Linked DNA regions of Homo sapiens: region 1 is linked to region 2. The links are contacts of gene promoters, found by promoter capture Hi-C in blood cells and fetal thymus (Javierre and others, 2016). All regions are on one chromosome and are shown on one strand. The core of a region is centred on a gene start or on the middle of the fragment in contact, and the rest is flanking DNA. Distances in the headings are between cores, read along the strand shown.

The links. The method cuts DNA at HindIII sites, captures the fragments that hold promoters and counts their contacts. A CHiCAGO score of 5 or more calls a contact.
Region 1: a contact is called between the fragment with the promoter of EGR4 here and the fragment with the promoter of WBP1 in region 2, in 1 of 17 cell types (fetal thymus). The highest score is 6.5, in fetal thymus.

What each region holds. Positions count from the first base shown.
Region 1 is chr2:73,290,486-73,296,826 of GRCh38, forward strand. EGR4 (early growth response 4) reads right to left here and starts at 3,063. Exons shown (of 2, transcript NM_001965.4): 1 at 2,697-3,063; 2 at 444-2,296. The coding sequence starts at 2,832. The coding sequence ends at 972. RefSeq lists an enhancer at 654-1,349 and a silencer at 3,346-3,425. The HindIII fragment of the contact is 1,844 bases long and covers 2,579-4,422 here.
Region 2 is chr2:74,456,950-74,462,908 of GRCh38, forward strand. It overlaps WBP1 (WW domain binding protein 1), which reads left to right and starts at 1,489. Exons shown (of 4, transcript NM_012477.4): 1 at 1,489-1,722; 2 at 2,694-2,796; 3 at 2,924-3,100; 4 at 3,272-3,932. The coding sequence starts at 1,654. The coding sequence ends at 3,732. It overlaps INO80B (INO80 complex subunit B), which reads left to right. Exons shown (of 5, transcript NM_031288.4): 5 at 385-995. The coding sequence ends at 915. INO80B-WBP1 (INO80B-WBP1 readthrough (NMD candidate)) reads left to right here. Exons shown (of 8, transcript NR_037849.1): 5 at 385-911; 6 at 2,694-2,796; 7 at 2,924-3,100; 8 at 3,272-3,942. It overlaps MOGS (mannosyl-oligosaccharide glucosidase), which reads right to left. Exons shown (of 4, transcript NM_006302.3): 4 at 4,108-5,959. The coding sequence ends at 4,326. RefSeq lists enhancers at 292-361, 860-1,366, 992-1,141, 1,367-1,874, 1,812-1,921 and a silencer at 502-741. The HindIII fragment of the contact is 3,318 bases long and covers 1-1,936 here.

The DNA.
Region 1 (6,341 bases), core at 1,813-4,312, 1.2 Mb before region 2:
AAATGAGGGTTGGCTTTGAAGTTGGACAGATTTGTTTGACCTGTCTGTTCCTAGCCTGGGTTAACTACATTGTTCCAGCAAGCTATCTACATTGCTTCCACATCTTTGAAATGAGGTATATGCCTGCTTTATTTGGGAATGCGAGGATTAAGGAGAATAATATATACATAATGTTGAACACCTACGCCTTTTAACCACTTTGAAGTTCCAGAAACACCTCCAGCCCTTAGGTGAGCTGTGATTAAATTCGTTCATTAACCCAACACACATTTACTGAATGCCTACTCTGTGCCGCAGTTCCTGGCAGGTGTGCCTGACAGTGGGTGTGTAATATGTTCAGGGTCTGTATCCCATGAGCGTGGGGATCTCCTTTATCTTCTGGCACATATGGTCCTGGGGGAGAAGCTAAGGGGAAGGGTCAGGAGCTTACATGGCAGATTCAGTAAGCTTTTAGCACAATAATTTTAATTGCAAAAATAAACAGTTTTGTCAACTGCTTGAGAGTAGCGTCTGCTTTACAAAAATTAACAACAACAAAAGGAAAAAAAACCCAAAGCAAAACGTTACATCCAATGGCTGCTGGATAAGACACTGCTGTACAAAGTCCCGCGCGAGACCGCCTTGGCGCTGCCCCAGCCTGTCTCTGGGGGTTATAGAGGAAGGCGTGGGGCGTGTGCCAGTTACAAAAGACTGTCTTGAATCCCAGGGTAGTGCCTATTCACTGGGTGGTCTCAGAAGACTTCCCCCAAAGCGCGGCTGACAAGGGTGACAGCGCCTGGACCGCGGGAACTGTCCGCGGAGCTGGTGCTGAATAGGGCGTGTGCGGCGGGCGCTTCAAGGAAACTGGAAGCGGGACCGGAGGCCGGCCCTCGGGCGTGCGAGGAGGAGTTGGAAGAAGAGCGGGGAGGGGAACGGCCCGGAACTCGTGCGCGCCGAACGGCGGCGCCCCAACCCATAAACCCATCTCTTGCTCAGAGAGAAGCGAAGGAGAGGCCCAGCGAGTAAAAGCCGAGGCCCTTGAGCCGCTCCTCGGCGCGCGCCTTCTGCTTGAGGTGCACCTTGCTGTGCCGTTTCTTCTCATCGCTGCGCGCGAAGCGGCGGCCGCACACGTCGCAAGCAAAAGGCTTCTCGCCGGTGTGGGTGCGCACGTGCGTGGTGAGGTGGTCGCTGCGGCTGAAGTTGCGGAGGCAGATGCGGCACTGGAAGGGTTTGTGGCCCGTGTGGATGCGCAGGTGGCGATTGAGCTCGTCGGAGCGCGCAAAGCTCCGCACACAACTCTCCACCGGGCAAGCGAAGGCCTTGGCGTGCGGCCGCGGGCAGAAGCAGCGCGTGCTGCATTTGCCGCCGCGGCGCCCCTTGCGTCGCGCCTTGGCCTGGGGGAAAGGGGTGGGCGGCGGCGGCGGCACGGGTGGTGCAGCCACGCCACTGCTTCCAGGGATGTCCGCCACCAGAGGTTTAGGGAAGTCCGCCGCGGCGGCGCTGCGAAGGCCCAGCGGGGAAAGCTGAGGCTGCGTACTGGCCAGAAACTCTCCGCCGTCGCCGCTACTCCCTCCCTCCCCACTAGGAGGGGTCAGGAGCCCAGGGAGGCCCTCAGCCCCCTCCCCTAAGTCACCCGGGGCCAGCGGGAAAGCGTCATAGGCCCCGCTGGGATAGAGTCTGTTGGCTGGGACGGCCGGCAGTTCCGCAGGGCAGCTGATGGACAGCAAGTCCTCAATCTTGGTCCCTATTACGGGAAAACGAGCCTCCGGGGCGGCCTGGTAGTCTCCCTGTGACCCACAGTTCCCTGGGGCCCCCACAGAAAGCAGCTCCCAGGGCGCGTAGGGACCCTTGAAGGCAGAGACAGCGTCCAGCGCTGGCGAGGCGGGAGGCGCCCGGAGGCCGGGCTTGACGTCGGGCGGGGAGAGCTGAGGCTCATACAGGCACTGCGAGGGGGCACCCGCGCAAGGCGAGGCCTCCCAGAACGCCTCTGGGAAAGGGGCAGCGCCCAGATCCGGGGAGTAAAGGTCCGGCGGACCCGGCAGCAAGGCATCGGACCCCGCAGGAAAAGGGGCATCCAGCGGGGATCTGGACGCTGCTGCCTCTGGACCGGGGAAGGGTGCCAGGCCTAAGATGCCCGACATGAGGTTGAAGAGTGCCTCCGGGTCGTGCGGGTGTTCGGGCACTGCCTGAATGAAGAAGCTACCGCTGTAGCTGAGGCCGGGAGGGGGTGTGGGCGCAGGCCCCTCCAGGAAGCAGGAGTCGGCTAAGTCCCCACTTGCGCCGCAGCTGTTCAAAGCCCAGCTCAAGAAGTCGCCTGCTGAGGAGGGAGCAGGAATCAGCTCTGGGCACATCAAAGGGTGCACCTGAGTCCACAGCCCCTACCTACAAAACTCTTGGTGCCCACGGATATACACAAAGTGCCTTTTGCACATTCTGATTCAGCAGGGGCCCGCATACGTCCCAAGGAGCACATAGAAACATGCACACGCAAAACACACGTGCACAGGCAAAAGGGCGCTCCGATAACCGCACAGGTTCCTGCGGAGGCGCTGGCGGCCCAGTGTGGGTGGGAATGGGGGTGCGCACCCCAGGACTCCTAAGCTTCCCATCGCCCCTATTCTCATAGCTCCAATGTCCCAGTCCCTCCTGGTTCTCAGGTATGGTGCGCCCCCGCGCTGCGCCGTCGTCGTCTGAGCACCCCTGCTCGCCCTCCTTACCTCCAGGGTAGCCGGTGGCCGCGGGAGCGTCCCTGGCAGGCAGCCGGGGCAATTCAGCGCTGGGTTCGGCGCAACAGCCTTCAGTGGACTTGACGAGGAGCGCGTCGGGTTCGGAAAACTCGCTAAGGTGGAGCATGGCGCGGCGCCGGCTGTGGGGCGCCCGGGGCCTCGCCCGCTGGGCTTGGGGGCGCGCGGGTGGCGGGGAGGCTGGCGGTAGGGGTTCCCCGCAGCGCACAGACCTAGGCGCCCGGGCTCCTGGCTTCGGGCACTCACCTCTGGGAAAGGAGTCGGGGAGCCGCGGCGCCCTCGCTCGCCCGCACCGGCCTCGGGCGGCGGCTCCTCGCCTCTCCAAAGCGCTGCCGGGCTCCCCCAGCCCACAGCCCCCCCACTTATATAGCTGCGGCGGCGCTGGCTCCGGGCTTCCGACTCCCCGGGCCACTGCCATTTTGGGAGGCCCCGGCCCTGCCGCCGTGACGTAAATGCCCAAACATGGACACAGGATGTGTGCCGGGGACTCCCGAAAAGGAAAGCTCGAGCTGTGACGTTGTTGTTGTCGCCGCCGCCGCCAGGCTCGCGCCGCTGCGTGCGCGCGCGCTCCCCAGGCGTGGAGCGCTGGGGCCGCGGATGCGCCAGTCTGGGGCGCTGCGCCTCACCGGGCCGACCGTCCGGTAGATGCGCTTCCCACCTGGAGGCAGAGGCCGAGGGGCAGCAGGGGAGGACCGTGTTGGGTTTGAATCTGCCCTCTGCCACTAACTAGCTTGACACTCAGTCCCCCTTAACGTCAGTTTCTCACCTGTGCATTTCCTGTGGAGAGAAACTGAGAGCACATAAATGTCCAGGCGCACTCAGTAAACCACAGAGATTATTGCCATTCATTTCTTTTGCTCACGCCTGTGTGTTTTTCCATTTTAAGTTTTTTTTTTTTAAATTTGTGCTAGGAAAAATAATTTAAATTAAAAAGGACTGTAATACTTGTTAACAGTAGGAGGAAAGTCAACTAGCACAACAGGGTATATTCTAAATTGAAAAGTAAAAGTCCCTCCTCTCCACCTACCTTCATTCCTAGCTCCTGAGGTAGCCACATTTAAGTTTCTTGGGTATTCTTTCAGAAGAATTTTATGTATATCCAACCATACACATTGTTCTGCAATATTATTATTATTATTATTTTTTCACTTGAAATAACTTAGAGATTGTGCCATGTCCTGACATAAAGATCTTGTCATTCTTTTTCAAGGCTGTATAGTACTCCATTGTAAGGGAGGACCTTGAGTTAGTCGATTTGTCCCCTATCCATGAGCATGTAGGCAGTTTCCAACTTTTTACTTATACCAATGTTGTTGGAGTCAACATCCTTGACTATATAAATGTGAATGTGTCTGTGAGATAAATTCCAACGAGTGTAATTGTGTGCCAAAGTATATGTAAAATTTTGATAGACAACTGGCAAATTGTCTTCCAGAAAAGTAGGGCCAATTCCTGCTCACTCCTCCCTCACCCACAGGGTATGAGATGCTTCTGCAGAACATTTTTTCTGCCTTCATACAAATGGCTTTCGCTCTAAGGATGTTGATCCCAGCAACACACAGGGAATCCGTGGGAAATATCTCCCTGGAATCAGTACTTGAAATAATTGGGCTTCTTTTGAGAAAAAAAAAAAAAATCCTAGCCTTAAGGAGGCTGTGAATCTTGGCTGCAGAAGCATCAGAGCCAACTCCAGCAAAGAAGCTTGCCTACTCTCCTAGTCTCATCTCTCTTCTGCTGTGGTTTTCCCTCTGTCTCATTCTCTCATTCTTTTTAAAATGTTTATTTTATTTTGTATTATAGCTCACTTAACTCCTTTCTGGAACCAAATTAAATAAATACATGGGGGGGAAGGATTAAATAAATACATGGAATAGCATGTTCTTCTTTATGAAGAGCATCAATTCCTGAGACTCTGTGTGCTGGAGGGTAAGGTGGGCAGGTTTAGGGCTCCTCCTTCCTTCTCTCCTTTTTTGAAATAGAAACAAAGCCCTTTGGGGGTGGTGGACTCAGCATCATGGGCAGTATAGCTCCCAGCCTCTCTTCCACCCCTGTACCCTCTTTTTCAAGAGAGAGAGAGAGAGCCCAAGAATGCCCAAACCCCACCACATTCTCAGTCCTTTCACCCTATGTCCATTATCCAAACATCCATTCAGTTTCTCAATGTTCATTCATTCAGTATTCATTTCTTAAGTGCCTATTACAGGCCAGAAGGTAGACTTTGGTTTTATGTCTGCTGGGACCCTGAGCCCCATCTCCAGCACTAGGTGCCCACTCCTCATCCCACAGTGACCTTATTAAGTGTTTTCACAGAATATGTCCCTTCACACAATCACCTGCAAAACATATGCTGACACACTTGTATGCATCTTCTCCTGAAGTCCACAAATCATATAAAGGTTCTCACAGGGTCATGCACTTGCAGTGTGTCTTACTAAATGGCTACACCTATGGTTCTGTGTTAGTAGCACATATATGAGCATGTAGGAAATGCAGAAACCCAGCAGATGTCTGTAAAGATTGGACACACCAAGCACGATTTTCCTTATACTCTATTTCAGATCCAGGGTTTGATTCTAATCCAAATGCATTGCCAAGGCCAGGTGAGCCCACACCAGACACACAGGGCACACATGTCTCAAATCCACTCTGGCATCCTACTGCCTGAGAGGGAGGAGGAGGGGAGGAGTTTGACTGGGCTGGTGTCCAGGTCTCCCCAGGTCGCCCCGTCGGGCCAGATTGGTCAGCCCCAGGTTGCCCATCCCTTCTGCTGTTCTTCCCTCTGCCACAGCATTCCTCCTCCTTCTTAGTCACAGATAATTCCCCTACTCTCTTGGTGAGTTGCCAAGCCATTGCTTCTCTCTGCCAAGGGCTGTTGGACTAGGTCTGTGTTAGGACAAGGGTCCAAGTCACCAAAGTTTCTTGTGTTAGAGGCCAGACCTGGGGGCAGGGCTCGGGGGTGGGTAGGAGTGATTAGGAAAGGAGATAGGGAAGAGACAGCTTGTGCTCTGGGTGTGGGATGGCTCACACCCCCATGTCTATGCTACTTACCTCCAATGGACACACATACACACACTCACAGGCACAGAGGATGGCTACCTCTGGAGGGCAATTTGCATCTGCCTTTGGCTCTCTGAAGACTGGGAGGGAATATAAAGGGGGCTGAGCATTTTGTAGTTCTTCCCAGCTCGTCCCTTCTTCTCCCTACGTTTTAACAGCTTACAAAGAGATTCTGGGCCCAGATAAAATAAAAGTCTTTGGGAAGGGAAGGAAGAGAGAAGAGCTTAGATCTATGAGCTCCATTTAAATCACACTTCAAATATAAAAACACAAATGTACACAAGGGAAAAAAGGGAAATCACATACATTGAGCATTTTACAAATATTTTATCATTCAATCTCCACAAAAGTTCTATGGAGTAAGGAATTGGAGACCAATTTCACAGATGAGGAAACAGATTCAAAAAGGTCAAATGACGTGATCGACACCACACTTCTAGTCAGTGGTAGAGCTGAGAGTCAAGTCCAGGCTAGCCTACTCTATAAGACAATTTAGGAAAAGATAATTAATTTTACAAAAGGATTCACTGTTGGATGGCTTTAGATGGAGGATCTCCCTGT
Region 2 (5,959 bases), core at 239-2,738:
TAAGCCTGGGATTTTGGCTTGAGCAGTTATCCACCTGATACTCTCTATTGAGATAAGATTAAAAATAACAACAGACCTCTGGGAAAGCTGGTACAGTTTTGGTGCACAGGTCAGGCAGGTAACATTACTGATGCTTCTCCCCTTGAGAGATAAGGACCTAAAGCTAAATGTCAGGAGATCTGGGAGGAGGCAGTATTTATGAAGAGGAACCTATGGAAGGTGTCCTGGAGAGGGTGCTCATTAATTAATATCCCGCCTCCGAAGGCCTGCACTGCTCAAGACCCTGCCTTCCATGTCCCTTCTTTCCCCTCCCCCGATCTGGCCGACCTCGCCTCTCCATCTTCCTCCATTTTCAGACAGCACCCCGTCTCTGTCTCTCCCTAGCGAGCTCTGCTCCAGAAGGCGCGGAGTCAACCTTCCCCTATGCTGCCGCTGCCTGTAGCTGAGGGCTGCCCACCTCCCGCCCTCACAGAGGAGATGCTGCTGAAGCGCGAGGAGCGGGCGCGGAAGCGGCGGCTCCAGGCGGCGCGGCGGGCAGAAGAGCACAAGAACCAGACTATCGAGCGCCTCACCAAGACTGCGGCGACCAGTGGGCGGGGAGGCCGGGGGGGCGCACGGGGCGAGCGGCGGGGAGGGCGGGCTGCGGCTCCGGCCCCCATGGTGCGCTACTGCAGCGGAGCACAGGGTTCCACCCTTTCCTTCCCACCTGGCGTCCCCGCCCCCACGGCAGTGTCTCAGCGGCCATCCCCCTCAGGCCCGCCGCCGCGCTGCTCTGTCCCCGGCTGTCCCCATCCGCGCCGCTACGCTTGCTCCCGCACAGGCCAGGCACTCTGTAGTCTTCAGTGCTACCGCATCAACCTGCAGATGCGGCTGGGGGGGCCCGAGGGTCCTGGATCCCCCCTTTTGGCTACGTAAGGCCCTTAACCCGGACTCTGCGCCCCGTCCCATGCCCGCTCTTGAGTATCTTCCCCACCCTATTAAATTACATCCGGTGCTTCGGCTTGTACAGAACTGGGGGAGTGGGATGTTGTGGGCAGACCAGTCTCCGGTATACACGTATTTTGCCCCTGTCGGAGCTTGCGTCGATGCCTGGGGCTTGGAAACCACCGCAAAAAACCAGGCTGCAAACCAGCGGACCGACTTTTGGGACTCCGCCTCTTCCAGCCGGGATTACCTGGCGTGCTTCGGCCTTTGGCGTCATTCCGAAAACATACCGCAAGCCAATCAGCGGCAACCTTGCTCTTCGGGGCGGCTGTTCGTTGGTTGATATGCCAGAGCCTGTTCTGTTGTCTGTATTGGCTATTGCCGCTGTCAGTCAGGGCCGTGGGTCGAACCTTCACCTACTCTTTGTCTGTACAAGCTCTTGTTGTCTGGGTGAGCGGCGGAGGCGCTGCTGTGGATTGGTCACAGGGAGAAACCTCTGATCTGTTCCTATTGGCCCGTCCGTCAAGGGACGATGATGATTGGTAGGGCAGAGCAATCTGAGTCCTAGTTGGTGGAGTTCTGCCCGGATGGAAGCTCCGGCCGCGGAGTGATGGTGGCCTCAGCGAAGATGGGCCGGGCAGGGACCATGGCGGTGGCAGCAGAGGTGGCAGGGGCGGGGCGGCTGGCGGTAGAGGAGGCTGTGGTCCTCAGGGGGCTGTAGGTGGAGGTATGGCTCGGGCCAGCAGCGGGAACGGCAGCGAGGAGGCCTGGGGGGCACTTCGGGCGCCGCAACAGCAGGTATCCCAATAGCTCCAAAACCTATCACGACAGCCATTTGTCTCTTTCCCCTTTCCTTGTCCCTTCCTTTTGGGGGTGGGGGAGGAACTCACGGAGCCAAAGGTACTGTGAAGTTCCTAAACATGTCTCTTCCACTCTTTGTCTAAACTTTGTAACGTAGATGCAGCTGACTTTGCCTGTAGCCTCATAGAACCCATCCCATGGCTGCAGTGGAAGCTTGCGGTGGCTCTCCAGTGACCAGAGGCATAGTGAGGTCCCAGGGAGGCTCCCTCTGTCTTGCAACAGTTATTTGTGATCTTTTTCTATGTGCCTATTGTCACAACAGAGTCCGGCAGCGTCTTCTCTTGAGGGAGCAATTTGGAGAAGAGCTGGAACCCAGACTCGCGCCCTGGATGCCATCCTTTATCATCCACAGCAATCCCATCTGGTTGGGAGCACTGCTCTGGGTCTCACACTGCCCCTCCTCTATCCTAGGGAGCCTGAGGCCCAGGGGTGGAAAGATCCAGTTGCGGGTGGGGGGTAGTGAACCGCGCAGGATAATGAAAGCAACTTGCTTTGGAAATGACCTACCGCTACCCGTTGTCTGAGACTGAGATTATCTCAGACTGTCTTCTGGCTTCTGCCAAAACACTCCCTTAACAGAAAGCACCGAGGGGATGGGGGTAGGGGGGTTGGGGAGAGTGAGGCTTGAGTGTGAAGGAAGTCTCATATATGCAGAGCTGAAATCTCCCTCTTTGTATGTCCACACTTTTGTCTTGTTCTCTAGACTGATTCTTGCTATTCCAAATCCTCTTCCACGTTGACAGCCCTTCAGATATTTCAACACTCCTCTCAGCATCCTCCACTTCCCCCATCTCTCCAAGCTGAACTTGGTTCACAGGGTGGGATTGTGTATGTGCATGCAGGAGGTGGGGGTGGACAGTGCCCTGGGCTGGAATCCCCCTTAGTTCTAAGTGCCTCCTTGCCCGCAGCTTCGAGAGCTGTGCCCAGGAGTGAACAACCAGCCCTACCTCTGTGAGAGTGGTCACTGCTGCGGGGAGACTGGCTGCTGCACCTACTACTATGAGCTCTGGTGTAAGTCTCCAAGAGGGCTATTTCCAGGTCCCTGTGTCCACCCTCCCTTGGACCTCAGAATTTCGGCCTTCAGGGCCCCTTCTCTGCATGAAAGATGCCTGAGTTGCTCCCTCCTTGCCTCTTGCAGGGTTCTGGCTGCTCTGGACTGTCCTCATCCTCTTTAGCTGCTGTTGCGCCTTCCGCCACCGACGAGCTAAACTCAGGCTGCAACAACAGCAGCGGCAGCGTGAAATCAACTTGTTGGCCTATCATGGGGCATGCCATGGGGCTGGTCCTTTCCCTACCGGTTCACTGCTTGACCTTCGTGAGTGACTTGATGCCCTGGGTCAGCTACCAGTGGCCCTCCCCAAACCAGAACCCCAAATCGTCTCACATTCCCTTTTCCACACATTTCAAAGTATTTTTCCCTAATATAAAAACTAGCACCCTATACCTGGTTGTCTTCAACCAATCATGCCAATTTTCTCCCCTGCAGGCTTCCTCAGCACCTTCAAGCCCCCAGCCTACGAGGATGTGGTTCACCGCCCAGGCACACCACCCCCCCCTTATACTGTGGCCCCAGGCCGCCCCTTGACTGCTTCCAGTGAACAAACCTGCTGTTCCTCCTCATCCAGCTGCCCTGCCCACTTTGAAGGAACAAATGTGGAAGGTGTTTCCTCCCACCAGAGTGCCCCCCCTCATCAGGAGGGTGAGCCCGGGGCAGGGGTGACCCCTGCCTCCACACCCCCCTCCTGCCGCTATCGCCGTTTAACTGGCGACTCCGGTATTGAGCTCTGCCCTTGTCCTGCCTCCGGTGAGGGTGAGCCAGTCAAGGAGGTGAGGGTTAGTGCCACCCTGCCAGATCTGGAGGACTACTCCCCGTGTGCACTACCCCCAGAGTCTGTACCGCAGATCTTTCCCATGGGGCTGTCTTCCAGTGAAGGGGACATCCCATAAGTAGTTTTGAGAGGGTGGATGGGTTACTTGCCCACCAGAAACAGCCCTAGTCCCAACTCCTTGCGTTCCTTTGGCCCCTCCCTGCCTACCTAGAATCTGCCTGAAAGGGCTGGAGAGGGGCAGTATTGGGGGACTGTGCTAGCTTTACCCCCGCAGGACATACACAGGAGCCTTTGATCTCATTAAAGAGATGTGAACCAGCTACTTGTGGATTTGGGTGGACTAAAGCTCAACTCACTGCATTGCACTTGACCTGACTGGGTTTGAAGGGGACAGGTTATGGCCACTTGACCCCACCTTCCCTGAGGACAGCAGACAGTGCTGAGGCCTGGACTGACCTAAGGCCTCTTGGTGAGGCAAATCTGGCAAAAGCAATAGAGTTCAAAATGTTTTTTCCAATTTATTTAGAAAAATAGACTCTGGATTCACATTCACCCCAGGGCTATGTGGGATGACAGCAAGGAGACACCTGAGATGAAATGAGGAAGGTTTGAATTACTGGTATCCAAGGGGCTGGGGGCAAAAGCCAGAAGCCTTTGTCCCTTCAGAGCCAGAGTGGCATGAGTGTCTTGGCTCCCCTCCTCTCCCTCCCTTCAGTAGTCTTCAGCCATGGCCAGTAAGACAAGGCTGGTCCAGCCGTGGAAAGGGCGGCAGCCCATGCCTCGCCCATCGCGGTCACTGTACTGCTCCCAAAGAAAGCCTGTAGCCTGGTACTGGCGCCATACATTGCCTACCACGTTGGCACGGAGCTCACCGTGGAGTTTGGCAGCCCGAGCCTGGTGAGGACCCTCCAGATGCCCATAGTGGTGGAGTGCTCCCAAAGCCAGGTAGTTGACATTGAGCCACACAGCACCCCGCCAGTAGGGGGGATCATGCTCTGAATTGCGCTGGCCATAAAAGGAGCTGGAGGCTGCAAGGGAGCGTAAACCAAAGGGGCTCCAGAGATGGCGGCTGTCGGCTAGAATGTCCAGCAGGGGCCCAAGGCGGGATGAGGTGGGGTCCAGCAGTCGCAGCAGCAAGGGAAAAAGACTGACATAGCCAAGAGCATCTACATACTGCAGTTGAGGTTGGGGCCGACCCACCACCCGAACGAGCCCCTGAGGGGGCCTGGGCTTCAGCTGTACTGCTTTTGTGTGGTTCCCAAAGTCTGCAAAGACTCCTAGCTCTGGGGCCCAGTGCAGCTCATCCAGGCTCTCTGCTGCCTCCAGTGAGGCAGCCAGTGGGCCCAGCTCAGCAGCTACCTCAGCCTCACCCAGATGCTCTGCCAGCCGCGTCAGCACACGGGCACCCAGTGCCACCCAACATCGCAGGTCCAGGTGCCGCTCGGTTACTGAAGGGTGTGAAGCCCGGGGGTAGTCATCCAGCCCAGAGGGTAGGGTCTTGGGGTTCAGTAAGGTTGGTAAGGCAGGGTCCCGTCCCCGCCAGCGGTAAGATAGTGGCAGTGGGCCTGCCTGGCTCTGATGGAGCCAGGAAAACCAGGCATGCAGGCGGGGCAAGGCCTTTCGGAGGAAAGCCAAGTCGTCAGGGTCACCAACCTCTAGCATATGGGCTACAGGCAAAAGTAGGGTTGGGGGGTTGGCGTGGACTGCTCGTTGTACTAGGAATTCTGGAGGCACCCGGGCTCGGGCCTCATCCCCCAGTATCTGCTCCCTCCCAATCCAGCCATCAGCATTTAGCAGCCCCAGCCAGTGGCCAAGGGCTTCCCGGGTGAGGGAGGGATCCCACCGCTGAACCACCAGCTGGTGAAAGCCTTCATCCCAAAGGAAGCCTCGTGGGAAGAATGACCGGGAGGGCACTGCTGTAAAAAGAGGTACGGGTGGAAAGAGGGCTGGGTCCACCTTCTGCTCAGACCCTTCCACCCCGATGTCTGGCAATACCAGCCCTTGTCCGTAGAAGTAGCCAATTCCACCAAGGAGGCCGCTGAGGGCAGCCTGACCCAAAACCTGCTCGCCAGAGCTCAGGCCCTTCTCCTTCAGCTGGAAGGTCTTCTCAAAGCGCTCTCTAAAGCCTTCAGCATGGCTCTCCAGGGCCTGGGTCAGTAGACTGCCTGCCAGTCTTGGCAGGGCTTGATTTCCTCCTGCCTGGGCACTGCCTGATTCAAACACAAACTCTATGGAAATGGGAATTTTCAGGGTCACCTGCTGTATCAAGAACTGCCCCTGCCCTTGCCCACTTGGACCTCTGTCCTCCCACTTCAGGGATCCTGGCAAGCCGAGGTAGCGTTCAG